Regions from separate parts of the Homo sapiens genome. Here regions 2, 3, 4, 5 and 6 are each linked to region 1. Evidence: promoter capture Hi-C in 16 types of primary human blood cells and fetal thymus (Javierre and others, 2016). All regions are on one chromosome and are shown on one strand. Each heading gives the region's core, a stretch centred on a gene start or on the middle of the fragment in contact. The rest is flanking DNA. Distances are from core to core; before and after follow the strand shown. Region 1 holds the start of EXT1 (exostosin glycosyltransferase 1). Region 2 holds the start of SAMD12 (sterile alpha motif domain containing 12). Region 3 overlaps SAMD12 (sterile alpha motif domain containing 12). Region 4 overlaps SAMD12 (sterile alpha motif domain containing 12). Region 5 overlaps SAMD12 (sterile alpha motif domain containing 12). Region 6 overlaps SAMD12 (sterile alpha motif domain containing 12).

Region 1 (3,408 bases), core at 223-2,722:
ATCAAAGTTGGGTCGGAAGTTTTCAGTACTGATGCTGGCTTTGGCCAGCATCGCCTGGCCGATGTCAAACCCCACGTCCTCGGTGTAGTCAGGCCAAGTGCCGGAATATAAATTAAAAATTAAATGATTCCTACCATTGTTCCACAAGTGGAGACTCTGCACTTTGGATCTCAAATTGTGCACATACTGAGGTGACAACTGGTCTCTGTCTAAAGTATCCAGACTCAGGACAAAGAGGCACGCCTGGCTGGGGTCCGAGGTGTAGAACCTGGAGCCCTCGATGGCCGCTAGAATGTTTTGGTAACTTTCGGCGATTTTCTCCCCTTTTTGCTGTGGGTATACGTAGACTTTGAAGCCGTTTTTCTTGCAAAGGGTGAAATCGAAGCAGGACTCCATGCGGCACTTCTTGCCTTTGTAGATGCTGGAGTTGGCATCTCGCTTCTGCCGGGGGGAAATGTGCACGCTGGAATCCTCGTTTTCCAATTGATCCCAAGGAACGAAGGGGCGCAGAGCGTCCGGGAAGCGGGGCCAGAAATGATCCGGACTGGGGTGGTGCAAGCCATTCCTACCGCTGTGTTCTTCTCTCCGGCTGTGGCTCCTCGATGCCCTAAACTGCAAGCCTCCGAAATAAAACAAAAGGGCGAGACAAGAGCCAGCTGAGAGCAGGATGAAATAGCGTTTTTTGGCCTGCATGTGTCCTGCCTGGGTCAAGAGGATTGTAAATAAACACAAGAATCACCCAAGTTTCCCAATCAACACTTTCAGCTCCAGTCCGCCATCTTCCCGCCTGTAAAGACTTCAAACTCTCCGCTCCCACCTTCTCTGGATGCCTTTCCCCAAGCCGTGGACTGATCCAGCGCATGTGGGCGATTTCTTTAACTTTCTCCCCTTCGGTCTTTCATCTTTGGGTTGCACAATGCACGGGAGAGAGCGGGGCTGAATATCTCGCACCCAGGGCGGGCGAGCAGCGGACTGTAATTTTCTTGCATGCAACAAGACGGAGGAAAAGAAAGAGAGAGGGGAGAAAAAAAAAGCTCCCGATACCCAATCAATGGCAAGACGAAGTGATTGCCTTGCCTCTCGGATTCCTCTCGGCAGCGTGGAAAATGAGCCCCGGGAAGGCAACTTCAACTCATCCACCACTCTCCGTGCAGAGCACTCCGGTTCCAACAAGTCAGCCGATCCCGGGTTCAGCCGGCTAGTGCATCTTGCAGCTGGGGCGCCGTAACCTCACAAATCCCTGCATCTCTCTTTATTCCCTTCTGCAGCGGCTCCAAGACTCCGGCGGTGTTTACTCCTGCGCTCGCGGGGCCGGCCCCCGGGACGCGCGGCGGCCCGGCTGGAGGCGGCGGCGGCGGCGGCGCTGGGTGGCGGCGGCGGCGCGTCCTCCCCGCGGGCAGTGCCGGCCCCGAGCAGCGCTTCGCAGGCCCCCGCGCGAACGCTGCCGACCGCCGCGTTCGGTCGCCGAATGTTACCCGGTTCTGAATGTTACACTTACACATTCCATTCCCGACACGACAGCGCTGACCTCATCCATCCACGCAGCCCGCGCTGCCATTGGCCGAGCGTCACGTCCGGGGGGGGCGGTGCTTCCGCTGCGCCCATTCATAACCCCCGGCCGCGGGCCGAGGCGCCGGCGCGGCGTTGGGGGCGTAGGGGGCGCAGGGAGCCGGGGCTCCCGGGTTGCAAGCTGCCGGCGGGCTGCCGGGCAGGTGGAGCGCGGGACGGCCCGGTGCGAGCCCCGCGGCCCCTCGGCGCGCCCAGGCCCGGATCTCGGCCTGCGCCGTGCCGGGGACCAGAGGCGCCTGCGGAAACGCGGCGGCCGGGGAAGGAGGCACCGGCAGGGGCCCCGTGCCGCGCGGCCCCGGGCGCCCTGGAGAATCTGGCCTCCTGGGCTGCCTGCCGGAACGCCTAGAGAAAGATGCTTTGAAGGAGGGAAGCAGGGAGGAAAGGAAGACTTCATAGAAAGCGACCGCCGATCCGAAAGCTGCCTCTCCCAGCCCTCCTTCCACTCTCCGAGACCCAGTATTTCAATTTTCTGCTAAGCATTAAAACAATCTCCCCTTACTCCTCCTCTACATAGCACATTTTTTTAAACCAAAGAAACACCCCAATGCCCAACAATAAAGAGGAATTATTACAATCAAGAGGAATTGTTGCAATTCTTCATGCCTGCCTCTGTGCTAAGAGTGTAAGACGGCTATCCTAAATCCTCATTATCTACTTAGGCCGCCTTGCCTGAGCCCCCTCTGTCTATTATGAAGAAAGCTTCCAAGAGATCCAATCACAGAGAAAAAATAAATTTTCTAATGGCTGCAGGGAAACCAGTTAATTTAAGCTTGCCCCAGTCCTCAAAGTGATGTTATTCTCTTGGTGGTGGTGGTGGTGGTGGTGGTGTTAAAGATATCTCTTAAGGACATATGACTGGTAGAATTGCCAACTGTCCCAGCTATAGAAGGAACACTTGCATCAGGAAAACTACCTTATGTACAATTAGTGCCAAATAGTTGGTCCTTCCCTCACTGACCTCCCACTCCTTGGCCCAAGCTCCTGCCACTCCCAGTGGAAGAACTTCATTAGATAACTCAGGTAACCGAGGAGCAGTCCCGCTAAAGATCCTCCAGGTCCACAAAGATGTGCTAGGCTCCCAAACAGTATCTCTGGTCAAAGTCAAACTCCCTGGCCTCAGATCCTGAACACTGCTTTACAGAAAACACCTCCCACCCTCTGGCCTAGCTAAAGTCTCAGGGCTCGGGCAAGCTAGACAGTTGCCTAGGGCAGCCGGCTGTTTAGTGATTGTTTATTATGGGAGTGACTGAGAGCTAGGAGCAGACACTTCCCGGCTTCCCTCAGGCTGCAAAAACCCCAGCGGGGTGTGGATGAAGGGCAGGGTTATAACAAGGCAGTATGAAATGATAGAGTGGAAAGTTTCAGACCTCTGTTGTTTCAGATTTGTTTTAATAAAGCAGGGAAGGGGCATGGGTGGGACATTACTATACATTCGTGAAGCCTCTCCCTATTTCTGACCTGCCAAAGATGAGACAGCTTTTCCAGATTTGACTTGAACCCCCTGCACAATGTAGAGAGGCCTGGGACAGGAATAAGGATTCAGTCATCTTCCAAATACAGTGACAATGATGCAGATAAAGGCAGTGATTGAAACCACATGTGACCCAAAGCTCCCCCCAGCCCAAGTTGCTAAGAACAACAGTTCAAGGCAGGAGGCCTTCTCTTCTGATCAGGGTGCAGATTATCTCAGCCCTGTGAAGTGGGGCTGTGGGACTGGAGGTGCTCTCTCTCTCTCTCTCTCTCTCTCTCTCTCTCTCTCTCTCTCTCTCTCTCTATATATATATATATATATATATATATATATATGCTGGAGTGCAGTGGCAGGATCTCGGCTCACTA
Region 2 (3,408 bases), core at 1-2,500, 510 kb after region 1:
GCAGCAAGCCAGCCTCGTGGCCTTCTCGTCTCTAGCCTACAAGGAATAGGCTGATTTCCCCTTGGCAAGGCGCCTGAAGCAGCTGGCAGGCAAGCCCTCCTCTTCCTACTTCAGTACGCCCTCTGACCTGACTGCACTCAGAAACCAAAATTCTGCAGGTGAATGTAGGCTCCCATTTCGTCCCACAATCATTTCATCATTCAGGCACAGCTTGACCTCTAATGTGACATCACAAACCCTTCCGGTCCACAGTTTTTTTTTCTTCTTCAGAAACTACCTAAACAAGGAAGTTTGTGTTCCAAGGTAAGATAACCTGAAATGAAAAACTCAGGATCCCTCACGAACAGCCTGACCCTGCTTTCAACCAGGAAGTTCAAGGGAGGCAGGACTTTACGGTCAAAACTGCAAAGCCGAAGCTCAAGACTGTAAGAAGAAAGTGATCTTCAAAGAAAAGGATTCACCCAAATCGAAGAGGTTGTTGCACTTCTTTTCCCTGGCTGATTACATTTCATGTCTGTAAACTTTGCTAAGCCCGGGGCGCTGGCTGTATAAGCAGAGACAGGTGTAGGGACACCTCTACCCTCTGGGTACATCTGCGGCCGCCGCTGCTGGGTGCATAGGACGAAGGGCCCTCGACCCAATCCCAGTCCAAGCTTCCGGATGACGCACCTGGGCTGGGGACCTCTCCCACGTGAGGGGGGCCAACCAAGCATCCCCAGCCCCGGGGCCACCCAGCCTGCTCCGGAGGGAGGGGGCAGGGAAAAAGGGCATCTCGGGGCCAAAACCTCATGCCGGATCCTCCGGCTTTCCCCCCATTTCCAGGATATCGTTTCGCATCAGGGACACTCGTCTCCACACCTCCTACCTCAAAGTCCTACGCACCTACCCTTCACGTCTCTCCAAAGCAACTGAATTAAAGCGCCTACTGGCCTTGGCGGCGCAGGTGAGTGCCAAGAGGTGGAGGAGGAAGGGGCCCGCTCTCCGCCACCCCCTTTCCTCGCCTCCCCACGATCGCCAAGCTTCATCGGGGATGTGTGCCTTGGGGTGCGCGGGTTAAGAGGGAGCTTAAAAATGCCCCAAGCGTCCCTTACCTTCCACAGCCATTCTCTCAGAGCTTCCCTAACGCATGCATAATTTTCTTGGCCGAGGTACTCCTCCTGCCCCGCGCTCCCCCCTTCCTCTCGCTTTCGCCTAAATATTCTGCGCTTATCTGCTCCAGGACCAACCTGCCGCGGTCACGCAAAGCGAGGCAGCCGGCTCCCGGCTCGGCGCGCGCAGGGCGTCCTGGGAAGTGTAGTTCCCTCCCTTCGCTCGGACTGGGGAGAGCACCCCGACTCCTCCGCGGAGTGCCGCCTGGCCCCGACACTTGGAGAGCAACTCCAGCTTCAGCTGGCCAGGCCGAGCAATCTCTCCTGGGGAAGTTGTGAGGGGACCAGGGATGCCTGGTTGTGGCGGGGCGGGGGGGGAGGGGGGGGGGGTTCCCGGGAAGCGGTCTGGACTACATCTCCCAGGAGGCCGTGCGCTGAGATAGGTTCGCTGCTAAGAGTAGGGACCCGTGATTGAGCCCTTCCCTGTCCATTACAAGGGGTTTGGCACCTAGCAGGTGTGGTGAGGTGGGCAGGTGACGGTCAGCTGTGTGATGAGCTCCTGCGAGCTCGTCCGTGGGCCTCTGCCGCCGGTACCGCCCCGCCCCCTGGCCTCCTGAACCACCATTTAGTAGGGAGAGCAGGACCACTGTCCTCCTGTGTGGTTCTCCACCTGGGCCAGAGAACGCTGCCCAGGGTGAGGTTGAAACTTGTTCCTTCGCACCCTGAGATGTATGGGTTTTGTGGGGGAATTCCGACGGTTGATACAGTTGTCTTATCCTACAGGGTGGTTCAGGTGGCTAAATACTTGGCATGGGGGTGTAGGGGAGGAGGAGTGGCTTAAACCCCAATAGGCAACGTCCCCAAGGGGTTGTTAGGAACAAAGTCTGGGAGCCAGGATTGCACCGGAGGAGGTCAGATGAAAGCCTGTCTGGCTTCCAGGATAGGAGGCTTTCAATTTGCCTAGACTTGGAGCCTGTTGACAGCCTGTGATAGGGCCTAATAATTAACAGTGCCTGAGAATCAGGTTCCTTCAACTTCTGAACCTATGTCCTAGCTGTAGGTGCTGGGGATGCTATAAGCAGACATGATAATGGGAATCACGTGGATAGCAATACAATTCGACAGCTCGTAAAAATTAAGTTTCTAAACATTTTTTCCTGCGTGTGAAAATACGGATACAGTTGTGGCTGGAAGGGGTAAGGGAATAGCCTCGGGAATAAATCTGGCTCAAGACTGGATTGACTTTTAAAGGCCTTCAGTTTACAAATGTATTTGGTACCACATCCACCCAGTCACTCATATATAATGTTAATCTCTGTAAAATGAGGAAGTACAAAAATCGGATTCTTCCCATGATGACTACTTAGACATTTTTGTGTGTCTTGGTCATCAGCAAAAAAAAAAAAATGTTTTTCAAAACAATTTCGTTTCTCAGTGTATACATGCACACCTGTTGTTCTGGTCACTAATTACATGCTTAGTTCCCCTACTGGGTAATATATAATAATAATATGTGTATAGGTACTTTAAAAAATACCTGCGTGTAACCATTAAATGCTCTTGTTGATACTTTAATTCTGAGTCCATGGAGCTGTGTACAAGTCAAACCTAAGCCTCTCTTTTAGGTACAGTAGAGAGAGACCCATTCAGTGAGACATAATTTCCATGGGAAAAAGAATTTTCCGACCTAATACACAGCCAAGCATTCTAAACTCTGGAAAGAACTGAAATCCAGGTGCTTCACTACTTTATGTATATAAAATCACCAAAGTGTTAAGTATTTTCTGAGATTGAATGAATGTGAAAGAAAGCCATAGGACAGGTAGTATCAATGGTTCTCAACCTTGGCTGTGCATCAGCCTTCTACAAATATATATTCCTAAGCTTTTATCTTAGTCTCACAGAATCAGAGCTTATGGGGGTTTGGGTAGAGGCACTCAGGTTTTAAAAACCCACAGGTGATTCCAGTCTTCATTGAGGGTGAAAACCATTGGTCTGGTTCCAAGCTTTTAAATATCTGGGTGATATAAAAATATAAAAGTCATTGAAATCTGTGGTTAATTTTAAAACTTCATCTTAGCTCATCTTTAATATTTTTCCCAGTGATGTGCATTCTAGACGAGTTTTATTTTTAGTATAAATAAAATGTGAAGGAGATGTTAGTTTCTACCATATGAAATAGCCAATGTTTGACCATTTTTAAAACCTACAAATAGAACAATTTCATGTGGTTCTGCCTAATAAGGGATAAACAATAGTTGCGCAGAGGTTTTCAATTCTGGCTGAACATTAGAATCACCTGGGAAGTACTAAAAAAAAA
Region 3 (3,408 bases), core at 416-2,915, 400 kb after region 1:
ATTCAAATATTACTTTGCTTATCATTGACAACTCATCTAGAACGGTAGAAGAAAATTGAACTGTTTAAAAAAGGGATGTCAGTGCAATATATTCACCAAATTAGAAAAGAATAAATAAATAAATACAACCTTAAAGCTGCAGAGATTAATTTAATTTGGTTACTTCCCTGGAAATCACTCAGAATGATGGGAATGGGAAGGGGAAGAAAGATCGATTCTTATTTAGAGGAACTCACAGCAATTGAAATTGAAATGTTCATATGAAGGCGAAAACCATTAAAAACTGTAGGTGATTTGACAAATCCACTTTTTTCACGGTTTATGGTATTATTTTAGGCAACATATTATGCCTTGTCTAGCAGGTCAATTGACAAATTTGGAAACCTCTTGTTTTTGTTTTTGTTTTTTTTTTAAATGTACGTGAATAGATGTTTTGTAGATTGGAAAATCTGGGTAGATTTGATAATGCAAACCTCAGAACTAACTTTGCTGAACCTCTGCTGTCAGTTACAATGGTGGGGCCCTAGCAACTCTACAGTTCTGGCTGAAGAGGAATTTTCCTACATTCAAGCTTCTATAGCAAGCTTTAAAGTAAAGGGGGTAAAAGACCATTAAAAATATTTCTCAACACTACGCAACACAAAATCTACAGTGGAATAAAGGTTTGCATGGGGCTTCACAATGGCATATAGATCATTTAGTGGAAAATTCAACAGACACAATGTGATTGTAGTTAAATCATTTCCCATTGTGATGACATTAAAGGTGCCCATTTATTTTGTAAAACACAAGAGGGACATATACAAATCTGCACTGAACAAAGAGCCAGCCTTTTGCAAACACTTGTTGCTACTTTTAGGATGAAAAGACAAATCAAACTTGCCCTTTCTGATTGTCAATGAAATCTGCACCTCCAACCCTAAATAAGTAAATCAATCAATCAATCAGTAGTTAGACTTTTCTAAGAAAGGAAACTGGAGCACTATAAAGAACATTTTTTTTTTCACCTTTCAACTCTGCATCCACTCCTCCTCATTTGGAAATAGGATCTATATTGTTTTTGGAGCACCTATCTAATACTCCCAGGCATGAATATTAATTGGGCCAGTGAATACAATCAGAATGTTTCCTTAACTTTGAAGACTTTGGCGGAACTTCCAGGAAAGAGACATTTTTCTATTGAATTTGTGGCTGGGGACTGCCATATGCAGAGATAGCACCAGAAAGTAAAGCAAAGAAAGACAAAACAGACCTAGGAGATGGGATTCATGACATGGAGTGAGTCCTGAATTCAGCCATGGCTGAGCTCTGTTGGCTTTTTCAGTTTTGTGAGCCAATAAATATCTATTTTATGATTGCATAAAATAGACTGAGTTACTTTTATGACACTTACAGTTGAACAAATTCTGAATAATTTGAACATATATCAGCTTGCATTAAAATAAGGTCATGCCAGATACTCAATAAATGATATTTTTATGAAACCACAACAAAGAAAAATAAAATCAGACTGTTGTTAGAAATACTGAGTTTTCCATTTTAGTCCTTAAATCCTTAGCATGGCATTCTGAGTTGTCCATTACTTAGTCCCACTCATTTTTGCAATAATATTACTAAAACACTGTCCCCTTATTTCTAAGATCAATTCATACTAATCTACTAGCCACACTCAAACATACCTTGCCCTTTTGTGCCTCTTTGACATTGCTCATGTCATTCTTTTGGCTTGAAATGTGACCTCTAACCCTTTTCTCCATTGTTCAGGCTATAGACTATTCTTCAAAGCCAAGTTTAAGTATCATTTTCTCTGTGACGCTTTTCCCAATCTTCCAGTCAGTTTTAATGATTCCTCTTCTGCAAAGCTCTTGCTTATATCAAGTAACGCATGTGAAAGATGTTTTGTGCACTACTGAGAGCCATACAAAGGTAAGTTACTTTTAGTATTACTGAATACTTATATTTTTTTTTTTTCTTACAGTTATGTCATATGTGTATCTTTTTCACTAAACTGGGAACAATTTGAGGGCAGGGATCATCTTTATTTTTCTCACAGCCTAGTAAATTGTCTTGGCAAAATAAATACTACATAGTTGATGCATTTCAGACATGCACTAGTCATTTGATTTTTCTCTTGCAAAACCAGAACCCATACAAATTAAATCACCAGCCCATCCCAAATGCAACTAGCCTAAAAGAGATTTGAGAAATTTTAGAAATAAAATATTTTAAAAACCCAATAAAGATGAATAGAGTTGAAAACATTTTAAAGGAAATGGTGTTTGAATACATTGATCAAGACATATTAAAAGTTAGAGGATGCAGGAAAAGCTGTGGGGATTGCAAAGGCCAACAGAGTACATCTTAAGCTGTAAACTTATAACTACCCTGTTAAAGAGGATGCTTCCCAAAACAGCCACCTACCCTCCCAAAGAAAAACCAACAATCAACAAACCATAAAATATGTACATCTTCCTATACACATTAAAGACCAAATCAAACACAGAGCAGTCTTTAAAGCTGACTCTTTCTGCTTTAAAAAGGAAATAATTTGGTTGTTCCAGAGAGAAAATAAGAAAATGCCCCTAAGGCAAGTATTTCAATCAAGTAGACAGTTGGGGTTGGGAGAATATGGGGAGGGGTGGATGTAGTGGTGACAGAGCCCCTTGGCAGAGTTCACAAACTCTATTGTCTACTGGGGACTAGACAGGTAATGCAAATGAGCAGAGAGGCCAAAAGGAGGGAAAACAAAGCTTGACTATCAACAGCAAATGACACTTGCCCTCAGTTTTGGGGGAAAATGGGCAGTAGTGGGAATCATTGCTAACCAAAAAGGAATAGTGTTCTACAGGGAGCCATCACTATTCCATCCCAGCCTATTATTTCTTTGTGGGAATTCAGGTCAAAAGTTTCTAGAAAACCTGATTTTCTAACAAACAGCTAAAATGCATATTTTAAGCGAAATTTTTATTATTAAATACTGGTATATAATTTGCATAAAACTTTTAAAGCATTGGGGAGGTCAGGCAAACACACCTATTGCCAAACTTCAAATTTGTAGCCTCTGCTGTATAAAGTACATGAGATCAGCAACCCTCCCCATCACAAGGCATTTAAAATGATTTTTTAAGTTTCCATACAACTCTCTAATGGGTTAACCATGAAGTTCCCTAAGATGGGCTGAGGGACCACAATAGAAATTTTGAACATTTATATAGTGCCATATGTTTACAAAATGCTTCCTCTCAATTCCTCCTTAAAGCAGTTTTGGAAGAAAGCTGTTATTATTCCCATTTTCAGATCAGCTTTACAGCAGGCTCTGGAGAAGGCCAAAAGGGGTCCCACAGGCCTTTCATATTCCCACTTCCATTCATTCACAGCAAATATTTATTGAGCACTATCTGTAAGTCA
Region 4 (3,408 bases), core at 654-3,153, 330 kb after region 1:
CCATGGGATGACCATGCTCTGATGGTCTCCCTCAGAGATCCCAGGAATTTGGTTTTAGACAGATTAATGCTTCACTATCTAGAATTTTTATCATGTTGGATCAGTGTTTGCCAAAAAAAGTAAGGCTATCATATTGGCAGCTGTTTGAAGGCTCCTGGGTGGTACAAGGACGTGGCCATTATTATCCCTGCTCTTCTCCATACGCATAATTTCCTTCCACTTCTCTATCAAATCTTTCAGATTAAGGCAAAAGGAGAGCCTTCATTTGGTAGGAGTGTGATTGTAACACCTGCTGACATGTGTGTTGTTGTTGTTGTTGTTTCCTTGACAAAGAAAGGGCTTGCTTCAGTCTCAGAATCTTAAAAAAAGGTAGTATATCTAGCATCTAATAACTTTTAAAAACTTTTTAGTGTATTTAAAGTTACCCTTTATTTTATGGCAAATAATTATGGCAAAATAAATTTTATTTTCTGTGGCAATATCTTCTTTGTTTTTTAAACAAATTTGAGTTTAAAGACACAACTATCCCTTGGGCCAATTTTTAATAAAAAAATAAAGAAACAATGGTGCAGATGGTGAGAGAGTCATAGTGAAAACAGTGGAAGTAATACGGAAGCGATTCAAGGTTGGAAAGCACAATGCTCAGGTGTTTTTTTTTTATTCGTATATTTCCAGTCATATGAGTCCTTGGGCCATTGCTTTCAAAATAATCACAATGCTGATCACTTTTTATTTTGTACTGTGATATTTTTCTTTTATTAATTGTGGTAGATGGTGTTTTCCAAAGATGATTTTATATATGTCCATATATTCATATATGTATGTTTTCATATAGACATATATACATACATATGTATCTGCTTTTCATTCAATGGGACTGACATTTCTTCCACTAATATGTGGGGTTGATGCTCCCTCCTACTCCATTTCAGCAGGGTTATGTGACCTTCCTGACCAATGTAGTACAGTGGAATTAATGCTATGTGACTTCTGAGGTTAGGTCATAAAAAAGAAACAGCTTCTGCCTGATTCACTCTCTGGCACTGACCTTTGGAAACCAACCACCATGTTGTGAGGAAGCCCAGGTCACATGGAGAGACCATGTGTAGGAATTTTGGTCAATTTGCCAGCTAAGGTCTCAGTTGACAGTCATCACCAACCACCAGACAAATGAATGAACAAGCCTCAGATGATTCCAGCCACCAGCCTTCAAATCTTCCAGCCAAGGCCCCCAGATACCACAATAGAGAGTCAAGCCATCTTTGCAGTGCCCTGAGTGAATCCTTGACCCACATAATCCATGAGCATCATAAACAGTTGTCTAATACCACTAAGTTTTAGGGTAAATTGTTTTGCAATCCTAGTAAGTGGAATACATGGTGAAGATGGGAGGGTGAGATCTGTTATAATTTTGTGTTCCCCAGAGTGTCTTGTTTTCAGTAGATCCCGTGTACATCCACAAGGATTAAGTGAATGAATTAATGAAATGAAACAGCATTCACAGACATAGCTTGCTATTTAATCAGCAGTGACTTTCACGTTCAGCCCTTGCTTCTCTACCCTGCTGTGTGTTATGCCTACATGGCTCCTAATCAAACATGCCTGCAGCCCTTCATACTGGGGTAATGGGCTGCAGCCATTTTCCCTCTAACATCTGTGGGAAACCATATTGACTTTGCCTAATTTTGATGAGAGAGGAAGACGTTGGGCATGGAGGGTATAAATGAATAAATGTTTTTATTGTTGATGATGTTTAGGTTTCTTTTTCTCTTTGCTCATCATCACCTCCTTTCCTTTGCACAACTAGGAAGCTAGAATTTTAGATCTTTTAGCTAGAAATCACTTACCACCATGTTTCACAAGTCAGCACCTCTGAATCTAGTTCTTTCCTGCTCTACAAATGTTCCTTCGGATTAGCTGAATGAGTTTATAGCTGACACATCATTACCCTGAAACTCTTGCAAGTAAAGCTAATCACATCTTTTGAAAACTCCTGTAAACCAGTCACAGAGGCGTAAATTAGGAAGGGAAAGGCAGAAAGATAAAGTTGCTTATACATCAATATATTAAACTTTTTCCTTCTTGGAAGAACATTCTTTAACTTGCTCATATCCTGGGAAAGGGAGGACGCTCAGCCTCAGCTGGGCTTCAGGTGGAGATTTACCCAAACACACTAAGTTGACTCAGAATGCATCCTCACCAGCCCACCATGTATGCTTTTGTTCTAAGTTTTCCTTTTATCATAAATTCAGAGATTCTGAGGTTAACACTCAAGGAGTTGCTTTGCTTTATTCTTCAGCATATACTCTTACTAGGCATATACTAGTAAGAGCATATACTCAAAACTTTAGGCATAGATTTTTAAGACTGTATGAGGCTGGGCACAGTAGCTCATGCCTGTAATCTCAGCACTTTGGGAGGCTGAGGCAGGCAGATCACCTGAGGTCAGGAGTTCAAGACCAGCCTGGCCAACATGGTGAAACCCCATCTCTACTAAAAATACAAAAATTAGCTGGGCATGGTGGCATGCACCTGTAATCCCAGCTACGCGGGAGACAGGAGGATCGCTTGAACCTGGGAGGTGGAGATTGCCTTGAGCAGAGATCGTGCCATTGTACACCAGCCTGGGTGACAGAGCAACACTGTCTCAAAAAATAAAAAACACTGTCTCAAAAAAAAAAATTAAGATGGTATGAGCCTACAAAAATGCCTCCATGTAAACAGACATAATAAGTAAAATGAGGGTAATAAAGATTCCTACTGTTTGTCTCTTCTTAATCAGATGGTAATAAAAGTATTGATACCATTTATCAGGTGATTCTCAGCCTTGGCATTTTAATGAAATTACTATTAGTTTGCCACACTTTAAGAGCTGTAATGACTCCAGTTACCCCAGTCTGCTGCTTCTTTTGGGATTCTCAGAGCTGACTTTGATTTGTTCTGCCTGAACTTCTCTTTTTGTAGCATCCAGGGTCAATCTCAGTTACTCCCCCTTCCATCAACATTTCCTCCATCCCCAACAGCTACCAAATGTTGGGAGTGAATGGCATAACCTGATTCCTTTAAAGAGCTTACACTTCACTTCCACGTACAATTAGAACAACAAGAAGTACATGTTAAACCTTATCACTTGAATTCAACATATTTTCCCACTGAAGGCAGGAAAAGAGAGGCAGAGCTGTCAATGCCTTCGACCGCCTCGTCTCCTTTCCTCAACATCCAACACCTACACTCTCTTCACAGCCATCCCTAGAGGATGACTTTCTCTGATATGCTGCTGGGTTTTTTCTTCCCGCAGTAGGGGCCTAAGCCTAAATAATAATAGTCCATAAAGCAAAGAAATAAAGCATTTCACCTTTACTAGAAACAGTAAGCTCATAAGAAAAAAACATCCTGCCCAATGGCAAA
Region 5 (3,408 bases), core at 453-2,952, 280 kb after region 1:
TTACCATGTCTGTAGTGCCAATATCCTGACTTTGCCAAAAGACTTACAGGCCTGCAACAGTCACCTAGTAGACCCAGGCTAGTGATGGTGCCAATGACTGTGGAACTTGAGACATAGTTGGATGATGGCTTTATCCTCTCAGCTCTTTTATCCCAGAGATTATAGTGCTGGAGTTGGAAGAAGATGGGAGAAACATATGAGGAGAGAAGGAAGTCGAGCTCATACCATGATGAAGAAGATAACTCCTGAAGATTGGGAAGGGCACTGGCTGGCTCTCAAAGATGGACAAATGGCTTTACGACGCTTAAGGGGATGCTCTGTGGAGTCTGCTTGGGTGCAAATCACCACCATGACACACTACCCAGTAAGTTGCTTACCCTGCTTTAAGTCTCCGTTTTCCCATCTCATCAGTGGGTATGTTAACAGTATAGGAATATTTATGAAGATTAAATTAATTAATACAGAGAAAAGCACTTAGCACAGTTCCTGGCACATAATATAAATTAGCAATGGATGATAATGGGTTCAAAAGCTGAGGGCTAGCTACAGGTGAGTCAGCAATGTGACCCTTTATACCCTCAGGTGAAATGTATGGTACATCCATGCCAATTTATATTTACAAACACTCGCATGAATGCCAAAGCCTATGTACCACACTCCCTCATTCACTGCTCACTCACGACTTATGCTTGAAGGCCCAGGCCACTTAGATGTCCTTCTTTCCCTTTTCATAATTCTATTATTACAGAACGTGTATCTCAGATACGTAGAGTGATTCTCAAATTGAGCTGTCTCTTAAGACTCCAAGATGCCACTAAAAATTTCATGAATTATTTAGAAAGAAAGTAAAAGCAATGTTCACTTGGGTTTTCTTTAGCAAACACCCTGAGGCCAGTGTTCAGGGACCAAAATGTCATGTACAAGGTTCTCCAACCTCAAAGAGTTCAAGCCATTGTTTTAAGTAACACTTTGTTCGCTGTGGGTACCAATAAGTACATACTATAATCAATAAGACTCTTTCTATAATTTATCAGAATCATAAAAATAGACTCAGAAGCGGTGGCTCATGCCTGTAATCCTAGCACTTTGGGAGGCCGAGGTGGGTGGATCATGAGGTCTGGAGATTGAGACCATCCCGGCTAACACGGTGAAACCCCATCTCTACTAAAAATACAAAAAATTAGCCGGGCGTGGTGGCGGGCGCCTGTAGTCCCAGCTACTCGGGAGGCTGAGGCAGGAGAATGGGGTGAACCCAGGAGGCGGAGCTTGCAGTGAGTAAGATCGCAAGAGCAAGACTCCATCTCAAAAAAAAAAAAAATAGACCCAGAAAAAGTTAGAAAAAAAGAGAAAGTTGAAGAAAAAAGTGAGTTTTTTTGTATAATTTTCTCTTCTGATTTAGATTTGGTTATAAAATGCTTCAGTTCAGTGTCCATTCATTCTTCTTCCAGCAATAAGGTGTTCAATAACTTATATTTTAATTATGTATTGTTTCGTGTGAGTAAAGAGACCTGAACTTGGAGTAAAAAGCCTGGGTTTGCAGGTTGGTGTCTCCACATGCAAGCTCTGTGAGCTTGAGTAACTTATTTAATGCCACTGAGTCAGTTTCCTCATCTGTAAAATGATAATTATCATTTTAATCACTCTGAGTTTTCTATGTGAAAGTTAAATTAGGCAGTAAATTAGAAAGTGTCTGGTATAATACCTGACTCAATGCCTTCATTTCAAATTAAACATTACATAAAGGTGTACCTTGTGTAGGCTTCCATTGTTACACCTACTCGATTATAATATAATCATGAATATGTTCACATGCCTGTTCTTCCTTCTAAACTCTGGGCTCTCTATGAAGAAAGCATGGGTTGTATTTATCTCAGTAACTGCAGCACTCAGCAATTGGTAGATATTCATTAAAGTTTTCCTGAGTGAATAAATGGCTCTATGAGAAAGGGAGAATACTATCATCCTCATTTTAAAGTTAAGAAATGGGCCCAGAAAAGTGAAGAGATTTGTCCAAAGTCGTAAGACTAGTAATTGTCAGAGCAAAGACAAGAACCATGCTACTTCTACTTAGGAAGGCTGCGCCTGTTTAGTTCAGCATTCATTTAATAAACCATTAATGACTTATCATGTGCCAGTTGATAACCGAGGTGATTTTTAAAGTACAGAAACCAGTTCGGAACCTAGAGCTTCTGTTGAGCCCATAGTTTATGGTGGTTTCTACTAGAGAGGTGGTAACAGGAAGATACTCAGAGAGGGGAAATTTTGCATGCAGAATCTAAAGGACTTGGTGAGAAATGAGGTATCTGAAGCAAGACAGAAGTTGCCAAGGGTGAGACACATGTTTCTGGCTTGGGCAATAAAAGAAAGTGCAACTGCTACCATGGGGAAGATTGAGTGAGCAAGGACGAGGAAAAAGAACAATACTTGTGGTTTGGACATGTAATAAATCCAAACTGCCCACATCTATGAGATATTCAATAGAAATACAAAGTGGGCATGTTGCTATACAGGCTGGAGCTCCAAGGAGAAGTCTGGTTTGAGGTTTTAGCTTGGGAGCCACCATCATTAGAACTGACATACAAACCCACAGGCAAGAAGAAAGCAAGTGTGATCACAGGTCTTAGGACTGACATCCCTCGAGGAACTGAGGTCCTGAGTGGGTAGATCAGTGAGATGAACCAACAAGGACACTCCCAAGGGGCGACAAGAGACATGGAAAAAAATCTGGGAGAATGAGATCCCAGAGAAGTATGGTTCAGGAAAAAGCAACTGGTTGTCTGTTGAGTGCTGATAAATCTGGCAAGGTGGAGTCACTAGAACACACCTTGCAATATAAGGTCCTTGAAGCACAGAAACCCCAAGTCTACAGATTGTGGAACAGTGAAGAGTCTAGCGTGTCTAGGTCACTCGATAACTGAGTTTTTCTCCTAGGGTAGATATCTTTTGTTTGACCCCACATAGGTAAAGAAATTACATTGAAATTGAACCATAAACCTTTCACATCATCAGTATTATAATAAAAACATTATCATCACAATTCATTCGAATTATGCTGGGCTGGGTATAACTATGAACAATTTCTCATTCCTTAATCTTTGTGACAACCCTCTGGGTAGGTTCAACTATTATCCCCATTTTAAAAATGAGGAAAATGGGACTTGCAAATTAATTAATTAATTAATGAGACTGGGTCTCGCTCTGTCACCCAGGTTGGAGTGCAGTGGTGCAATCACAGCTCACTTCATCTTCGACTTCCTGGGCTCAAGCGATCCTCCCATCTCAGCCCCGCAGTAGCTGGGACCATCAGCACATATCACCATGCCTGGATAATTTTTGTTTTAGTAGAGACAGGGTTTCACCATGTTGCCCAGGCTAATCTCAAACTCCTGGGCTCAGGTGATCCACCTG
Region 6 (3,408 bases), core at 385-2,884, 270 kb after region 1:
ATCAGACACTGAATCTGCTGGCGCCCTGATCTTGGACTTCTCAGCCTCCAGAATTGTAAGAGAGAAATTTTTGTTGTTTATAAGCTACCTAGATTATGGCATTTTGTTACCGCAGCCTGAACATGTTAGATAATCATCAACAACAAACAATTAAATGCATTACACCAGAGTGACAGCCCCACGTGAGCCATGGAAGGATACTCCATCTCTATGGATAAGAACTGTGATTCACCCTCTTTAAGAGGGAAGCCCAAGGATTTCCAAAAACATTCCAAAGTCTTTGTTTGTACTTATTCAGCATATTGTTTCTGCTGAGTAATATTTACAGAGATGAAGAATCAAATATTCATTACTGAAACATCTGTTACCCCTATGGTGAATTTCTATATGATATATATTTTAAACTAATAAGTTCACCTGAGTGGAATGAAATTCTAATATTTTTATTATAGCAAACCTAGACCCAAAATATTTTAACGCTAATCTGTCTTTACAACTTCTACTATTAATCATAAAACATAAAAACAACTTATCAATTTTGTTTCCTTTTTTTTTTAAAAAAGAAACTATTACTTCAATAAGGCTATGTATTTTCTGAAGGATGCCTGACATAACATGAGTTTGAGCATTAACATGTGAAGAACCGGCTCACGCCTGTAATCCCAGCACTTTGGGAGGCCAAGGTGAGCAGATCACTTGAGTCCAGGATTTCGAGACCAACCCGGCCAACATAGAAAAACCTCATCTCTACTAAAAATACAAAAAATTAGCCTGGTGTGGTGGTGCATGCCTGTAATCCCAGCTACTTGGGAGGCTGAGACAGGAGAATCACTTCAATCTCGGAGGTGGAGGTTGCAGTGAGCCAAGATTGCGCCACTGCACTCCAGCTGGGGCAACAGAGTGAGACTCTGTCTTGAAAAAACCAAAACCAAAACCAAAAACCTATGTAAAGAACAAGCAATAAAAAAGGTAATATCAGCACAGACAAAATACCCAAGAGCTAGAGAACAATGCGGCCTTCCAAAGGGAACTGAATGAAAGAATTAAAAATGTACAGCTTTTCAAAGCTCAAGAAAGTGACAACAACAACTGAATTCAAAGGACTGAACTGGGCATTATCTTCCCAGAACACGTATGTATATTTAGCTTAATAGACCTGAGTACTATCTTAGGAAAAATCTTATATATTATGCATCTAGGGCAATGAGAGCTGTAGAAAATGATTCTCCAAAGCAAACACACTGCAGGCTGACATTAGTAGAGGAAAAGAGTCAAAGGCACACATAATGCGTCACATGTGAGTTTAGGTCTCATTCTATATAGATCATCACCAGAGGGAAAAAGAATGAGCTGCAAAAACCAGACACTAAACAGAAGCTGGGCAGCTATGCTTGTGGTTGAAGCTTAAAAAAATGCATATGTGTATTTTCTGATTATAATTGTAATATGAATTTGCAGAAGATTTGGAAAATACAGAAAAATAAGAATTTAAGTCACCCACTTATCCCACAATCCAGAGAGATCCTTTATTAAAATGGTTGGCATATTTACTTGCAGTCCTTTTTTTCTGTACATATAAGAATATATGGTTTTTACAAAATTGGGCTTATATTATGCATACAATTTTACACATGACCTTTCCTCCCACCTTGTATGACTTACGTAATTTCCCATGTTGTCATGTATTCTTTAAAGATGTAATTTTAATAACTGGGCATTATACTGAATCTTATGAATTTAAGCAGAATTACTTGATTCTTTTCACATTGCTGGACCTCTAGGTTGCTTGTAAATTTTCCGTTTTCCAAATAGCACTGTGACAGACTTTCTTATCATAATCTTCGTATTTCTATCTACTTCTTAAAAGAAGCTTAAAAGCCTATCAGTATTTCACATTCAAATTTAAATCACTTAGTATACCAGTAAATTCACCATTGGAAATCTCTGAGGACAAAATGCAAATAATGCATATGAGACAAACAATACTATTTTACGATCACTTGAAATCTATATTTATCCTTCTAGAATAGTCATCTTTCAGGGAGCACATTATTTCCTCTAGGCAAATGGACTATTACTAGGTTAATCTAAATGCAATAACATGAAACTTGGCTGACCCAGATTTCTCCAATATCGGTATGCATGCAATTACAATATTCTGCAGAATGACAAATACTCAAGGCTCTCAAAAACACATATTTTATCATCCTTTCATTTAAAACGATGTACAATGGACGCTAAAATAAAACAAATAAAGTTTATAGCCAATGAAGGTTGATAGCATCCAAATCTCATGTAGACATATCAGTTACATATAGTGTAACTTAAGGCTTTCTTCGAATTCTAGCTTTATTTTGTCACTTCCACAGTTATTGAGATCTTAAGTGCTCTCATCATATTGAAGTTATTTATAATTCCTGTTAAGAATTATATACTCTTAACAGTGTAGTTTTAGATTCACTATAGTCTATTATAAAAATTATTCCACTTTCAAGAAGCTAAATGGGGTTCTTACAATCTCTAAAGTGTGTGTGTATAATACATTCATGTATAGTAATACATATCTAAAATGTTTTTCTCCCACTAACCGGTGAAAAGCAAAACAAAAATACAACAAAAACTCCACTTATATCACTGGTCATCGTAACTATTGAATCACTCAAATGCTAAAGCGCCCTCACAATTGGCGCAGGTGAAGATAGCTACAGCTGGACTGTACAGTTGTGCAGGCTGCACATTATACAACTCTAGTGAGTGCAATCGTACCCTGATTGATGTGACTGGTATTCTCTGGGGTTGTGCAGTACACAATCCATACAACTGTACGTGACCACCTTGAAGTTAGCTCAGGTAATTCTGTTTGCTCATCCATTACTTATTTGTGCATCCTTCTCCCTAGTGAGCTATGAAAAAAGTTTTCAAAGGGAAGTAATCTTAAATCTGTATACTATTTTCTATGATGGAAATTCTGTGAAGAAACAATAACAAATTCTCCCTGACTCCTGTCTGTCCTAATAGTAAGGTGGTCTTTCTTCTAATCTCCCCATCCATCCACCCATCAGGAAGCAATAGGGTACCTTGTGTGAGTAACTGTAGATTTCTGACTTCTTCTCGCACCTTCAGCTGGAGCACCTGTTGTAAGATGTGCTGCCGGAGGTTCTCCTGGGCAATCCCCATTCGCTCGAGCTTTTTGTCAGTAAGTCTCAGCAGGGCTCGCCCTGCAGGGTTTTAAGAAATAAAAGGAAAAGCAAATGAACTACTTGCTGAAGAAAGATGTCCATTTTGGTCTTGACTAACCCTGCCATCACAGAAGTTTCTACCTAAACACAGACATTTTAGAATAAAGGTCTTCCATTATTATTGCTGACACAAATGGATTATCTGGGTGAAAAAAATACACATATTTAA

What was found. The method cuts DNA at HindIII sites, captures the fragments that hold promoters and counts their contacts. A CHiCAGO score of 5 or more calls a contact.
Region 2: the fragment with the promoter of SAMD12 here is called in contact with the fragment with the promoter of EXT1 in region 1 in 4 of 17 cell types (naive CD4 T cells, naive CD8 T cells, non-activated CD4 T cells and 1 more); the score reaches 8.6 in naive CD4 T cells.
Region 3: a contact is called between a fragment that was not itself captured here and the fragment with the promoter of EXT1 in region 1, in 1 of 17 cell types (endothelial precursors). The highest score is 5.1, in endothelial precursors.
Region 4: a fragment that was not itself captured here is called in contact with the fragment with the promoter of EXT1 in region 1 in 1 of 17 cell types (endothelial precursors); the score reaches 7.9 in endothelial precursors.
Region 5: a fragment that was not itself captured here is called in contact with the fragment with the promoter of EXT1 in region 1 in 3 of 17 cell types (M0 macrophages, endothelial precursors and M1 macrophages); the score reaches 6.2 in M0 macrophages.
Region 6: a fragment that was not itself captured here is called in contact with the fragment with the promoter of EXT1 in region 1 in 1 of 17 cell types (endothelial precursors); the score reaches 5.3 in endothelial precursors.

What each region holds. Positions count from the first base shown.
Region 1 is chr8:118,110,354-118,113,761 of GRCh38, forward strand. EXT1 (exostosin glycosyltransferase 1) reads right to left here and starts at 1,473. Exons shown (of 11, transcript NM_000127.3): 1 at 1-1,473. The coding sequence starts at 693. RefSeq lists silencers at 1,326-1,415, 1,516-1,895. The HindIII fragment of the contact is 5,337 bases long and covers 1-2,266 here.
Region 2 is chr8:118,620,713-118,624,120 of GRCh38, forward strand. It overlaps SAMD12 (sterile alpha motif domain containing 12), which reads right to left and starts at 1,251. Exons shown (of 4, transcript NM_207506.3): 1 at 1,092-1,251. The coding sequence starts at 1,104. SAMD12-AS1 (SAMD12 antisense RNA 1) reads left to right here and starts at 289. Exons shown (of 5, transcript NR_038210.1): 1 at 289-474; 2 at 823-943. RefSeq lists enhancers at 244-293, 324-533, 1,144-1,343 and a silencer at 1,444-1,593. The HindIII fragment of the contact is 1,953 bases long and covers 1,018-2,970 here.
Region 3 is chr8:118,511,051-118,514,458 of GRCh38, forward strand. All of the region lies in intron 2 of SAMD12 (sterile alpha motif domain containing 12), which reads right to left. Among named protein-coding and RNA genes, the nearest start is that of SAMD12-AS1, 110 kb to the right of the region's middle. The HindIII fragment of the contact is 2,166 bases long and covers 583-2,748 here.
Region 4 is chr8:118,440,807-118,444,214 of GRCh38, forward strand. The region is part of intron 2 of SAMD12 (sterile alpha motif domain containing 12); the gene reads right to left. Among named protein-coding and RNA genes, the nearest start is that of SAMD12-AS1, 180 kb to the right of the region's middle. The HindIII fragment of the contact is 3,938 bases long and covers 1-3,408 here.
Region 5 is chr8:118,394,629-118,398,036 of GRCh38, forward strand. The region is part of intron 3 of SAMD12 (sterile alpha motif domain containing 12); the gene reads right to left. It overlaps LOC105375724 (a long non-coding RNA gene), which reads left to right. Exons shown (of 7, transcript XR_001746062.2): 5 at 143-364. Among named protein-coding and RNA genes, the nearest start is that of SAMD12-AS1, 220 kb to the right of the region's middle. The HindIII fragment of the contact is 4,339 bases long and covers 1-3,408 here.
Region 6 is chr8:118,376,483-118,379,890 of GRCh38, forward strand. It overlaps SAMD12 (sterile alpha motif domain containing 12), which reads right to left. Exons shown (of 4, transcript NM_207506.3): 4 at 1,502-3,218. The coding sequence ends at 2,935. All of the region lies in intron 4 of LOC105375724 (a long non-coding RNA gene), which reads left to right. Among named protein-coding and RNA genes, the nearest start is that of SAMD12-AS1, 240 kb to the right of the region's middle. The HindIII fragment of the contact is 467 bases long and covers 1,402-1,868 here.